3 separate regions of the Homo sapiens genome follow, and regions 2 and 3 are each linked to region 1. The links are contacts of gene promoters, found by promoter capture Hi-C in human tissues and cell types (Jung and others, 2019). All regions are on one chromosome and are shown on one strand. Each heading gives the region's core, a stretch centred on a gene start or on the middle of the fragment in contact. The rest is flanking DNA. Distances are from core to core; before and after follow the strand shown. Region 1 holds the start of ACER3 (alkaline ceramidase 3). Region 2 overlaps PAK1 (p21 (RAC1) activated kinase 1). Region 3 overlaps PAK1 (p21 (RAC1) activated kinase 1).

The links. Contacts are between HindIII fragments. The study calls those that stand out against the background at their distance.
Region 2: a fragment that was not itself captured here is called in contact with the fragment with the promoter of ACER3 in region 1 in 1 of the 25 tissues and cell types used here (dorsolateral prefrontal cortex).
Region 3: a contact is called between a fragment that was not itself captured here and the fragment with the promoter of ACER3 in region 1, in 1 of the 25 tissues and cell types used here (small bowel).

Annotation. Positions count from the first base shown.
Region 1 is chr11:76,858,063-76,862,922 of GRCh38, forward strand. It overlaps ACER3 (alkaline ceramidase 3), which reads left to right and starts at 2,856. Exons shown (of 11, transcript NM_018367.7): 1 at 2,856-3,017. The coding sequence starts at 2,915. RefSeq lists silencers at 2,529-2,628, 2,669-2,928. The HindIII fragment of the contact is 20,791 bases long and covers 1-4,860 here.
Region 2 is chr11:77,465,862-77,470,721 of GRCh38, forward strand. The region is part of intron 1 of PAK1 (p21 (RAC1) activated kinase 1); the gene reads right to left. Among named protein-coding and RNA genes, the nearest start is that of PAK1, 5.8 kb to the right of the region's middle. The HindIII fragment of the contact is 6,447 bases long and covers 1-4,860 here.
Region 3 is chr11:77,425,148-77,430,007 of GRCh38, forward strand. The region is part of intron 1 of PAK1 (p21 (RAC1) activated kinase 1); the gene reads right to left. Among named protein-coding and RNA genes, the nearest start is that of PAK1, 47 kb to the right of the region's middle. The HindIII fragment of the contact is 5,345 bases long and covers 52-4,860 here.

The sequences.
Region 1 (4,860 bases), core at 1,606-4,105:
AAGGAAGGTAGATATTGCTGAAGGAACTGTGAAATTCATTTTGTGTTTTCTGAGTGAAACTTCTGCAATGCACCTTTTCTCTCGGATGGGGGAATTTCTCTCTCCTAAAATCCGTCCTGGTCACGGTAGATTTCCTTTTTCACTATTGAGGAACATTGTGCAGAGTATTGACTCAGCCAAGGCCTCATCCTGCCTTGAGTCACTTGGCTGGGTCAGGGGTTATTTTCACATAGGGGGTTCCACAACACCCTAATTTTTTTTTTACTCCTAGCTAAGAATGATCATACTCTATTGTTGTGGTCTCTGCACTGTTCTGATTGCACACCTCATCGGCAAATCACTTTTGCGTATGAGTTTTTGCATATTCATTTTGAGCATATAAATATATAAATATTTCATTCATTTATAAATTATATATGCTCATGATTATTACATAAACACATAAACAAAACGGAAGTTTTAGAATATGAGATAAAGTGACTAGAAATAGATGTTTCCCCACACCTCAATGGCTTTTATCTCTCTGGAGACGGCCTTCTTGGATCTTTCATGTTTACCTCTGTGTGGTCCTAGCACCCAGGCAGCCAAACAGGGCCTGGTATATAGTAGAAGCTCAATGACATTCAAAATAAAAATTTCAGGCCAGGCAGGGTGTAACTCAGGCCTGTAATCCCAGGACTTTCGGAGGCCAAGGAGGGTGGATCACTCAAGGTCAGGAGTTCAAGACTGGCCTGGCCAACATGGTGAAATCTCGTCTCTATTAAAAATACAAAAATTAGCCAGGTGTGGTGGCAGCCTCCTGTAATCCCAGCTATGGGGATGAGGGGGTACTGAGGCACGATTCCCGGAAGGCAGAAGTTGCAGCGAGCCAAGATGGCACCACTGCACTCCAGCCTGGGCGACAGATCGAGATTCTGTCTCAAAAAAGAAAAATTTCAGAGAGGCTACTATTCGTATTAAAATACACTGCTTCCGGCCGGGTGCGATGGCTCACGCCTGTAATCCCAGCACTTTGGGAGGCCGAGGCGGGTGAATCACGAGGTCAAGAGATCGAGGCCAGCCTGGCCAACAAGGTGAAACCCTGTCTCTACTAAAAATACAAAAATTAGCTGGGCGTGGTGGTGCACACCTGTAGTCCCAGCTACTCTGGAGGCTGAGACAGGAGAATCGCTTAAACCCAGGGGGCGGAAGTTGCGGTGAGCTGAGATCATGCCAGTGCATTCCAGCCTGGCCGACAGAGCAAGACTGTCTCAAAAAAAAAAAAAAAAAAAAAAAAAGATACACTGCTTCCCTAGGTTTTGCACCTAGCAAATAAAAGTTCTGCATCTATTTCCTGCTAATTGGCTATGGTTATTTTGTAGAAAGGCTGTGGGCTCTTCATCTCTCCTTGTCCTCTCTTTTACCTTTGACTTGCACCACATCTGACTTATTTATTTAGAAAATAGCAGTTGTATCATCCTTCATTTTTACTCTTCATTTCTTACTGTGTATTCAGGCAGAGTCCTAATACTAAGACCATAAAGAAGGGAAAGCAAGGTCTCTGATCAGGATGTAGCACAGTAGGATGTGAACAAAGGGCAAGGAAGCTCTAGGGTGTAAACATCTGGGATGGCTTCAGAGAGCTGGATTTTAAAAGAAGAGTGGGGAGTTGGTCAAACGGAGAAGAGAGTTAGGCTGTCCCAGTTGAACTGTGGGAGCAAAGGCAGGTGACCCAGCGCATTCTAGGAGAGGGGAAAGTTTGAGTTTGGTGTAGCTGAACACTAGGGGCAAGGGTGGTTGCATCTGTTTTAGGAAGAGCTCTCTGGCAGACCTGTGGAGTACTAGACTTTTTATTTATTTATTTATTTATTTATTTATTTATTTATTTAGAGACAGGGTCTCGCTCTGTTCTCCCAGGCTGGATTGGCACAGTCTCAGCTCACTGCATGCAATCTCCACCGCGGGGGCTCAAGTGATCCTCCCACCTCAGCTTCTCAAGTAGCTGGGACCACACGTCTGAGCCACCGCGCCCAGCTAATTTTTGTATTTTTCGTAGACACGGGGTTTTGCCGTCTACGATACTCCCAGACGGGGGCTGGGAGTATTAGACTTGAAGTTGGAAGTAGGGGTAGGCTGTTGGTTGCCTGAAGAGCAGGGCACAATTATAGTTAGAACGTGGAAACCTCTGTGCTTGGAGGCCCAAACGAAGCAGGGAAACTTTGCTTTAGTGCTCTAGCTAGCAGCATTCTTTTTTTTTAGGATCTCAGAACCTACTTTTTTTTTTTCGGTCCTGGGTTGTTCACCCTTTCCCTTTGTACCGAAGAGACACTTACACCTTTATCAGAAAATCACGGTTTATTTCCTGAGAATCACGGGGATTGGTTGGGGGTACTCTGTTTTGGGGCTCCATTTGAGGCCTGTGGCTCAATGGAAGACATAGAGGCGCTTCGCCGCACAGGTTTAATCAAGCAAGGGCTTGATAGAAGTATTCATCCCACCCCCGCCCCGATTAAATCAAACCACACGCACACAAATAGAGGCTCTGGCACATCCTGACAGAATATAGCCTCTGGGATGTCAGGAACCCCCAACCTACGGCCATTGGCGTGTCTGCACCGGCCAGGAAGCCCAGGCCCCCGGCTCCTTCCTGGATCACGCCCCTGCCCCGCCCAAGGGTGAAGAGGGGCGGGGCCAGCCGGCGCCCTCCGAGTGGGCCTTACACCAGGTCGGGCCTGGCCCGGCCCCGCGGCCCAGCGGCGCCGGTGGGCGGGGCCTCCGTCAGGGCAGTGTCAGTAACGGCGCCAGGCCCCGCCCCTCGGGGAGGCAGGGCCGGGCGGGGCGCGAGCGAGCGCGCGGGCTGGGCCGGAGCCGGCCTGGTCGCCAGCCTAACCCGGCACAGTGAGCGGAGCGCCTGGGCGGCGGCGGCGGCGGCGTGATGGCTCCGGCCGCGGACCGAGAGGGCTACTGGGGCCCCACGACCTCCACGCTGGACTGGTGCGAGGAGAACTACTCCGTGACCTGGTACATCGCCGAGTTCTGTGAGTGTGGCCTGAGGAGGGGAGTGGGGGCGAGAGGGCACCGGGCTGAGGAGACGCCGTGTGAGGAAGGCAAAGAGCGAACCTGGCCGCGAAGGGAGGTGCCAGGCCTGGCCCCGGGAGCTGGAATGCGGCGCCCTGGGCCAGCGGGAGGCTGAGAGGAGCGGGCCGGGAGTCCAGTGTGTAGAGGGAGGAGTACCGGGGTCTGGGAGGGAGGAAGGGGGCCTGAGGATTGGGGGGGCAGAAGAGCAGTGGGAAGTGGGGAGCCCCTGCTGGACCTAAGGGGGAAAGCCTGAAGAGCCGGGTTGGGAATGGGAATTCCTGCCCGAGAGCGGAGTGGGGCCAGGCTGGGAGAGTGGAGGACCCTGCCCCTTGGAATGAGGGCCCAGGACACCTGCTCTGCTGTTGCCACCACCAGAAGGGTACAGTTCCTAGCTTCGTCTTTCCCCCAATCCGTGAGAATTCTACCGTCTTTCCCTTCCCTTTTCACTGGAATATTAGACCTCCTTGCTCACCTCCAGGGAACAGTTTCACTAGTCTGAGATCTGAACCATCCCACCCCTATCCCCCAGGATGTCTTCAAGTACCAGAGGTCATCTGCTCTCTGAGTATGATTATTCAACTGTCATCTTGCACCAGGAGTCGAAGGCATCTTGCACCTAGCCTGTACCTTCTGCCCCTGCCAGGCTCCCAAGAGCACAGAGGACCAAGTCCCTGCTCCATTCTGTCCTATCCAACTATCTAGGAGTTAGGGGTCATCTGAGGACACTACTTCCACCGACTGCACCTTCTGAGGATTTAAGCATTCTTCTTTAGCGGCTGCTCTGTCAGGCACTGCTGGTCAGGTTGGGCTTGTTCTGTGTGCCTATGTGGGTGTCTGTCTGTTTTCCTAGACGATTTTTCCTGCCAGGCTAGGAGAAATCTGCCACTTCTTTTTCTATCATTTAATCAGGTTTTGAGAGCACAATATTTGATCCTTCTTTTAGGTACCTGCTTCTGGCAAAGTGCAAAGACTATCCTTTGGCTAATGATTACTGCCTTCTTTTAGTTGGATCTACTTCTCAGGACGTGAAGTGAAACTCTTCTTAGCTAACCTTCTCATTGTTGAGTCCTGTTCTCAGGCATCTGTGCATGGCTTTGTAGGAAAGAGGCAAGCATATCATGACAAATGGTCCCACTTTATTCTGTTCTGGTAATTGGCTAAGTTTCAAAAAAAAAAAAAAAGAACACTTTTTGCAGTTTTCAGGACTTTAGTACTATTCTCTTATGACCATGATTTAGGCTAAGAGTCACTTTTCTTCAACTATTAAATTAATAATTTTTACATAATCATGGAGAAATATTGGCAAAGGGATCATTTGTAATACAATTACTTGGGAACCCACATGTTGGCAAAGGAAGCGCTTTACCAGTTTGTTGTTAGATCACTTTGGCAAGCCCATGCCTGGTCCAGAGAACCATGACCACGAGGAAAGAGATGTAAAACCATGCACTCTGCGCTGGAAATGTGTAACATGGAAAAGAGGAATTCAAGAGTCTTCAAATATTGGATGGGCTATCATATAGAATAATTTTTTTTTAATTTATTTGGAATCTGGAATTAGGGCATATGGGCAGAAACTAACTGTAATGGGGAAAAGTTTGCTTCAATATAAGGAAAAACCTTCTCACCAATGATATGGGAAAGGTTGACTTGGGGGACAGAGGACTTTCTGTCACTGAAAGTGTTAAATCAGACATTGTTCAATGAACTCAATATTTTCGAAGGAAAAAATTATTTAATAGAGAAAAGGGGCTGGCCTTAGTTGCAGCTTTATGGGTCTATGTAGGTAATAATGACTCTTAG
Region 2 (4,860 bases), core at 1,717-4,216, 610 kb after region 1:
TTGCTTGAGCCCGGGAGGGCAGCACTGCAGTGAGCTATGATGGAGCTACTGTACTCCAACCTGGATGACAGAGCAAGACCCTGTCTCAAAAAAATAAATAAATAAAATATTAATAGTAATTCTCTAACAGGTAATTGGAGAACCAAGAGCCCCTCCAACTATACCAAGTCCCTCTTTACCCATCCCCAAAACTGGCAATTTACATTTTGTTCCTGTAGCCCATTGGGAACTATTTCCATAGTGAAATACTGTTACTGATGGACTACATCCCAGTGTATCACAGAGAAAGGGTGAGGGCAGGGAGTAGGTGAGAAGGTTAAGAATCACTGTCGAAATATTCAAGCAAAGAAGTTGGCATCAAATTCAACACATTTATATGACAGCTAAGGAAAACTGAGTCTCAGGACGGTTAAGTGACTTGCTGTGGTTACACAGTAATAATTTTTAAAAATGTCTTCAAGGCCGGGCGAGGTGGCTCACGCCTGTAATCCCAGCACTTTGGGAGGCAGAAGCGGGCAGATCACAAGGTCAGGAGATTGAGACCATCCTGGCTAACACGGTGAAACCCTGTCTCTACTAAAAATACAAAAAATTAGCCGGGCATGGTGGCACGCACCTGTGGTCCCAGCTACTTGGGAGGCTGAGGCAGGGGAATGGCGTGAACCCGGGAGGCAGAGCTTGCGGTGAGCCGACATCGCATCACTGCACTCCAGCCTGGGCGACAGAGCAAGACTCCATCTCAAAAAAAAAAAAAAGTCTTCAAATGACAGCTTGATGTCTCTGCTCCTAAATTTCCTCATCTGTAAAATGAGTTAGCCAACATCAGTCTAGCACATTACAGCTTCCAAATTGTTGTGCATATATCCACAGAGCTTACCTGATTCCCTACCACACCGCAAAAGTCTAAGACGGCTATGGTGTAATAGAAAAAGCATGATGAACTAAACAATCATAAGAACCTGGCTTCAGATCTTAGCTGTGCTGTATAGCCTCAGCAAGTCAATTAACCTCTTTGTGTTTTCTTCTATCAAATGAATATAAAACAACACCTGTCCTAGCTAACCCAGGGGATTGTCCAAAGAATAAAGTCAGATAATATCAGTAAAAGTATTTTGTACATTATACAAAAGGCCCTTCATCATCTGGGCCCTGCCTCCTCTCTGCTCTCACGCCTCCCCACTTTACACCCTATCTTCTAAGCATACTAAACTACACAGGGCTCCCCAAACAGGCTCTCAAATCTTCTGCTCACATATTGCTCTCTCTTTCAAGAGGGTCCATCATCTCCCCTTTCTTCTCACCCCTCCCTGACTGTGCTTCGTTAACCCCTGATCATTTTTCAGAACCCATCTTAGATGTCACCTCCTTTAAGAATGCTTGCCAGGCCACCCCCATTTCAAGTGCAGCAGATGCCCTTCCTCTGTGTTCACATGGCACTTGCACTTATCTCCATATTTTTGTCATTTTTTGTCTCAATGTAGTGTAATTGTCTATGCACATGTCTGTTTCTCCCGGAAACTATAAACCCAAGGGTAGAGGCTATGATTCATCTGTTTATTCAGAACCTATGACAATGCCTGATGCATAATATGTATTTAGCAAATGAATGAACTTTAAATGGCAATAAAATATTACTTTTCATATAATACTTACATAAGACATTTATGCAAAACATTGTTAATATAAGGCAGTGCTTCTCAACTTTGCATATCAGAATCACCTATAAACCTTTCAAAATAGAGATGCCAAGGCAACTCTTTACATCTTCACAAGTAATTCAAGTGCATAGCCGAAATTAAAACCACTGCTACACACAATCATAGTCATAAAATTACAAACTACTCTACCTAACATCTATATAGCTCAGTATCTTACAATTCACTTTTACATATATTATTAATCTTCACAAGAATTCTGTAAGTTAGGTATTATTTCTTTCAAATGAACAAATAGAGATTTAAATAAGTGTCCAAGTAGCTCTTTGTCTAACTTCAAATTTTGTGCTCTTCCTTAAACCCTCCCTTGGTAAGTGCAGTAATACACAAATCAAGGGTTCCACCAGTGAGGAAGACATCAATCTTAGCTTTGTGGGAATCCAGGAGGAAATAAGGAAAGCTGGACCTTAAAGATATAGGCAGGCAGATGAGGGTGGAAGCCATGCATATACTGTCATTGTCATTTGCCATCCCAAAAGATTCAAAAGGCAGATTCTATAAATTAGAAAATGCTCTTGCCAGCCTCAGTTAGTACTTAACAGTCTGAAAGGGAAAGGGATATTGGAGAAGGCTGGAAGTAGAAAAGTAATAAAAGAAAGCAGCCCATAAACAAGAATGGATTTCCCAATCCTGCATGCAAATTACCTAACTCTGACTCCAGGAACAAAAGCCAAGACATAATGGACTTAAGAATTAGATGAATTCTACAGTCAATCAATACCACGAAAACTCATGAGGGATGAATGAACCTCTGGTTCTTTCTAGACTTACTACTACACTATTCCTCAAGAAGGGATAATCCGGAGAAGCCTAGCATATACATGACTTTCCCCATCTCAAAAACTAAAAGAATGGGAGAGAAGAGGAAGATATTCATGAAAGAAAAGGCTTACAAAAAGGGTAGAAAAATGTAGCACATTAAGTTAATAAATTTACGATGGCACAGGGAAATATTCAGGCACAAGTGATTCCAAATACTGGATAAAGCCTGATCTGGCAGCTTCAGTAAAGAGGTATTATCTTCTAAGTCTGCAACATCATGACCATCTGACATAGAGTTTTATCAGCAATTATCCTTTCTAGTTCAAACTGTGGACTTCAGTCAGGGTTTTCTTAGGGAGAAGAAGCTAAAGAGATTAGGAACCAATTTAAAAGAATGTGTCTAGTGCCCCAAAATTTAGTTTGATAGAGTTTAAAAGGCAATATGTTATAGTGGCAAAGTAAAGTACTACACTTAGAATTTTAAAATGTGGTTTAAAATCAATATTCAGGCATTCATTAATGATGTGCCTCTGAGCAAGCCAAGACTTCTATTAATATGATCCTCAGCCTGCTAACTCGTAAAATGGGAATACCTATCTCATAGGGCTGTTACGAAGATTGAACAAAATAACATCCAGGAAAGATGTTATTTTTCCTGTATGAATGATAAATGTAAACGAATGTAAATCTGTCTTCACCAAGCCTTCTAATACACACACAAAAAAAACATACCAAATGGAAACTTTAACTCTCACTGCAATATATTTACTTGCAAAACATTCCTATATCCTCTGTGCAGAAACATTAAAAGCAGCCTCTGTACTGAAAATAGCACATAGCTGCTGGAGTCAGGTGCACATGGACTAGAATTGTTGGTCTGCCACTTACTTGCAGCAAAACCTTAAATAAGCTCCCTTTACTAGTATGACTCTCAGGTTTCCTCACCTATGATACAGAGATACCAGCAATCATCTCATAAGGTTATTCTGAGGGTTAAAAAGAACATGTTAAACATCTCATATAGGGCCTGGTACAGAACAGGTATTCAGTAACATAAGCCATTTTTAGTAAGCTTACCACCACCTAACAACTAACAAGCAAATTATACTTTTCAAAGATTCCTTTATAGTCATTATTTTAATTGCTTCATGATCCTGTAAACTAGTCGTAGCAACTATTACTATCCCCATTTTACAGTTGGGACAAAACACAGAGATAAAAATTACTTCTACAAGGTCATGCAGTAACATAGACACTAAAGAAGGTCTCCTAACTTTTCCAGGGTTTCATTTTCACCCACTACAAATTACAACATTACCCCTTAGAAATTAAAACATCTGTGAAGAGACTTTTTTTTTTTTTTTAATAATGGGCATAGAAAATGACCCAGAAGGAGCAAACACTGGTGTGGGAGAATGTTTTTAAATTTTTTATTTTCAAGTTTGAATATACTGACTATTAATTTTGAATCAATGCATTTTTCCTTTTATTTTTAGTTGATATGTAATAATTGTACATATTTATGATATTTTGAGATGTATATAATTCGTAATAATCAAATCAGGATAATTAGCATATTCATCACTCCAAACATTTATCATTTCTTTATCATAAACAGTCAAAAGCCTCGTTTTTAGATGCATATTGTTTATCGCTTTTCAAAAATAAACAATAAACTGTAGTGAGATGTATTCTTTTGATAACCTTAAACTTGTCTCTTTACTATGCCAAAAAGAAATATTTTTCTCCCACTTTCTGGTTATTATTTAGAAAAATAACATGGAGAGGGATCAGAAAATTCATTAAAACCAGCAACAACAGAATTAATGTCTCAAATTGGCAACTGCTGATTCCACCTTGATTTTTGTTTTAGTTTTCCCCAACAAAGCCCATGACCTCTTAAAATTTTTTAAAAGTCTGCCTGTCAAAATGATGCTTGTTTGACAAATTATTCCTAAACTGAGGGAAACAAATAGAAAGGCAGCTTTCTCCCCCCCTTTATGATCATATACCACCTTTTTTCATCCCTCTATTTCATCTCTTCATTTCAGCACTTATCATGTCATATTATCTCTAGCTCCTTAAAGACTTGGGCTGCACTCTTGTATATAGCTGAACATCCTGCCCAGCACAGGGTCTGGCACATGGTGGAGAAGGACTCATAATTTTATAGTAAACGGATGAATAATTGAAGCCACTCTCCCAGAAGGAAGCTAGGAAAGGAGAAAACTGGGCATGGTATCTTAGGGCTAATAAGAAAGTGAAAGAAACAAAGCATTTTAAGAGCTTGACAAGGAAGAGAAACCTTTGTGTGGAGTCAAACAGGCCCTATATAGCTTTAAGTATCACCAGAGAAAGACAAAAACCACAGGAGACCAGGAAG
Region 3 (4,860 bases), core at 1,474-3,973, 570 kb after region 1:
CCTTTATAAACTCAAAAGTGGCTGAGGTCCACTGTGTCATCAAAGTAGAAGACAATTTTAATAGGCATACACATCCCATTTTAAGGACTCCTGGATTCCAAAAACTTCAGACACAGGCTTTTGCTTTTTTTTTTTTTAATATAAAATCTCAATCTACTAAAATCTTTCTTCTCACTTTAATTAAGTTTGGACTCCAACTATGGTGTTCTACTCGGTCAGCCAAGGTTTCTAGAAAAGAGGCACCTTCTGTAAGAATTGACAGTTGTAAAAAGCTGCATTTATGTGGCAACTAATAAAGCACATTCATATCCATTATCCAATTAATTCTTACATACCCTCCTTTGAGATTTCTCCTCAGAAGCAATGCCCAGCCCCACGGCTATCTCTGTGGCACCCTCCTGGACCACTCCCACCACAGCCACCATTATCTTCTGCCACATACACATTTGTTATAACTCTTTTCACTTAAACTAATTATCTGTATCTCTTATCCTTAGTGAAATATAAACAGCTTGACAGAAGGGACAAGCCTAGCACCGTGTAAGGCATAGTAAATGCTCGACAATTATTTGCCAAAGTGAGTTAAAAAGAATAATTCATATTTCTGTTTAAATAAGGTAGAAACTGAGTTGACTTTCCCAAATTATCCTAGCTAAAACTACAAAATCAAGATATTCTTAGTGCAGTGGCTTCTGCGTATAATCCTAGCTACTTGGGAGGCTAAGGCAGGGGGATCGCTTGAGCCCACAAGTTCAAGGCTACAGTGGGCTATGATCACATAGCCTGGGTGACAGAGCAAGACCCTGTTTCTGAAAAAGAAAAAATACTCCTGGGTTCAAGGAATCTTCCCACCTCAGCCTCCCAAAGTGCTGGGACTACAAGCTTGAGCCACTGCACCAAGCCCATTCTTGACTTTTCAATTGAAGGCCTCTTTTTTTTTTTTTTTTTTTTTTTACACCACACGGCCCTCTCCTAAGACTTGTTAAGAACAAAAGGAGTCTCAGACTAGGAGTCAGAGGTCTCTGTTTTCAGACAAGCCACTCAACTTCTCTGAGTATCAATTTCCTTATTTGACAAATGGGAACCACCACCACCATCTTTTTTTCTCTGATCACAATATGAAGGTTATATAAGATAATGGAAGTAAACGTAGCTTTAGTGTGAAATTATGGCATATACTAAGCCAGGGACAATGCTTAGGTTGATGACTCCCACCTCCCACTGTTGGTGACAAAGTCAAAACCAGAGTCAACCCTACAAGAATCATATCATTTAACCTAATAACAGCCCTTTAAAAATTGGCTTTATTACCCTCATTTTACAGGTAAGAAAATCGGGGCACAGAGAGCTTAACACTTGCCAAAACTTATAAACCTAGTAAATATCAAGTTCATCACATTCTAAGGAGTTTTCCATGCTGCTCTCCAAACAATTATAGAATAAAAGCTTTCCTTCCTCTTCAGTTTCAATTAGCACCAGGCAGATGGAATAGTGCTAATCTTAAATTGGGAACATTCTACTGTGTCTCAGGCCAAATCAAAATAAGAGTTAGTCTTGTAGGTAAGTATACCTTGATTCAACCCCTGTGGAGGCAAAAATTGAATCTGTATATTAGAAAATATTCTGATCTCAATTTAGAAATTATTTTAATGAGACTGAAAACCTGACAGGAAAAGCAAAAATGAGCAATCTTTAAAAAAAAAAAAAAAAAAAATTCGGTGCTATGATTATGAAACACAAAAGAGCCTAGGCTTTGAAATCAGACAGTTCAATCTCAGGGTAGAAAAGAAAACCTGGACAAAGCCCCGGAAGAATGAATGATCAGAACAAGAAAAGTTCAAGATGCTGCTATGGCTGGAGCAAATGGGGTTGGTAGTGGGATCTAAAGAAATACAGACTCCTATCTTTCTCTTCCCCTCTAGAAACCCCCACATGCTACAAGGAACCTAGCCTGTGATGCTTCCCACACAGCTCCAAAAAGTGCAGACTGGTAAAGTCACTGAGAAAGTCTAAAACCCTCCTTTGCTGACACTTCAGCCTAAGTGTCTCTGCAGAGACAGACTGAGGGTCTCTGCAGGGATAGGCTGTCAGGAGACACATATCACAATGCTGGCCTTCAGACAATTTGGGGCAGGCTTTTTTAGTAGGATGATGTCACTGCTATTATTTGCAGCTTTAAATACCTATATTCCTGTAGCTAGGAATTATTTTATTTAGGATGACAGTGTAGATTTTTTTTTAAAGACATATTTGGAATTTACTAAAGAGGAGAATAGTGTGAATATATCATTTTCTCAGAAAGAGCTCTGGCACAGGGCAGATATCTAGACCCAAGGATGCCAGACTCCAAACCCTTTCTTGTAGTCAGAGCCTCTCAGACCTCAGTGGGACCTGTGAATGGACTTCAAATGAAAGCAACAGATTCACTGCTGTGGTAACTTCACCATCCAAAATTCATTCCCTTGACAAGTTCCATCAGCATTCCCTGAGGGTCTACTAGATGCAATGCCCTGTGTTGAGTGCATTCAAGGAGCAGCCAATGAATCAGAGGCAACAGATATGTAAACAGCTGATTGTGAAAAGAGAGAGAATGAAGTAAATACTCCATCAGAAGTAGAAAAAAAGGGGACTGTTTATGACTATAGAGGTCAGAGAGGTTTCACCAGGTAATTCCTTCCTCTTATTGTTATCTTCCTCACTGTATTCAGGCTCTGACATCCATAGCAGACATCTGAACTAGGACTCTGAGGGATTTTATCAGACAGTGAAGAGAGTTGGCTAAGCCAGACAGAGGAGAGGATAAAGGCAAAAAGCCAGAGGAGTAAATGTACTGGGGTATGTCTAAGGAGTAGCCAGTGGCGATAGTTGGAGTGCACAGTATACCAAGGAACTAATAAGAAATGAGGACGAAAGGTACCTTTGGGTCAGATACTAGAGATCCTTGAATGACAGCCCAAGGAACTTGAAATTTATTCTCTAAGCAAAAGGGAACTATTACAATGTTTTTAAGCAGAGCAGTGGCATGATTTGACTTATATTTTAGAATGATCACTCTTGCAGAAATGTGAAAGGTATAAGAAGATTGAAAGCAAGGAGATCAGTTAGGAGGCTTTGTGTTATAATAGTCTAGTTAAGGCCAGGCGCGGTGGCTCACACCTGTAATCCCAGCACTTTGGGAGACCGAGGCGGGCAGATCACAAGGTCGGGAGATCGAGACCATCCTGGCTAGCGCGGTGAAACCCCGTTGCTACTAAAAATACAAAAAAAGAAAAAAATTAGCTGGGCATGATGGCAGACGCCTGTAGCCCCAGCTACTCGGGAGGCTGAGGCAGGAGAATGGCATGAACCTAGGAGGCGGAGGTTGCAGTGAGCCGAGATTGCACCACTGCACTCCAGCCTGGGCGACAGAACAAGACTCCATCTCAAAAAAAAAAAAAAAAGTCTAGTTAAGAGATGATGAGGGCAGCCCAACACTGTGGTCAGACCTAAGCAGGGTGAGTCCATCAGGAGGGGGAGGAAGAGACAAGTAGTCTAGTGAGGAGAATCAGAGCCCAAGCAGGGTGAAAAGAGCATCCACATTTGGGGCAGGGAGGTGGACTGGTGTGGAATATCATAGTCTAAGTATAGCAAGGAAGGCATCCGTATCAGGAGAGAGGGGTGCCCTGGTGTAGTGTGTCAGAAGCCAACCACAGTTAAGAAAGAGTTGTCATGGAAGAGCACCCTGCTATAGGGTACCAAAGCCCAAGCAAGATAAGGAGGGCATCCACACAGTAGGGAGAGCCTGTGATGGGGGTGTCAGAACCTCATTTCCTCATTATGTCTATGAGAAGGCCTGGGAGCAGCAATGGTCCAATAACAATGAGCATTATCTAGGAACCAGATTTTGGATTCTAAATGCCATTTAATACTAAAAAAAAAAAAAAAAAAAAAAAAAAAAAAAAAAAAAACACACACACACACATCAGGATTCCTTGGCTGGTATAGAGAAAGTACAGGATGAACCTAGAACATCTTATTGGGCTAGAAAGCAAGGAAGTAGTCAAAGAATGATAGGGACATATCAAAAGTTGACAGAAGCCAACTTCTGATTTGGCTCCTACTGGCCAAACCAAAGAGAATTTGAGCACCAAAACAAATGATGCTAGCAATAGATTATTACCCATTAAATAAAATGAGTCCATACTGATATAAATAACTAAATACACTGAAAGTTTGGCAACGAAACGGATATTTACATAGTACTGCCTACAAAATACTTATTAATTATACAAGAGAAAAGAGTAACTTCACAGTGAAGAAGGCTGGTAGACACCACCTTAAGCAAGATGCTGAAATGAACATCAATAGTCATGGGACAAACCAAAACCACTACCATCTAAAAGGATGCAATGAAACGAATACAGCACCAGTTCTGTAATATTTACTACCAAAGAAGCATAACGTAAGACTGGTGATGACATTCTATAAAACACCTGCTTTATCTGATATTCTACAAAATAATTGGCCTGTAATCTTCAGAAGTGTCAAGGTTATCAAAGTTAAGGAAAGACCGAGGACACTAAAAAGATGTAGCTTCTAAATGTAACACGTGATTCTGAACTATATTCTTTTGCTGTAAAAGACAGTCGGACAATTGGCAAAGCTTGAATGGGTATGAGGATTAGATAATAGTAATGTAACAGTGTTTATTTCCTGATTTTGATGGTTGCATTGTACTTACACAACCATCTTATTATGTAGGAAATAATGTGGGGTTGATGGAGGGTCATGTCAGCAACTCATTCTCAAATGACCCAGAAAAACTAAGTTTGATATCGCTTTTTAAATTATTTTAATAAAAACAAAACAGATGATGAAGAT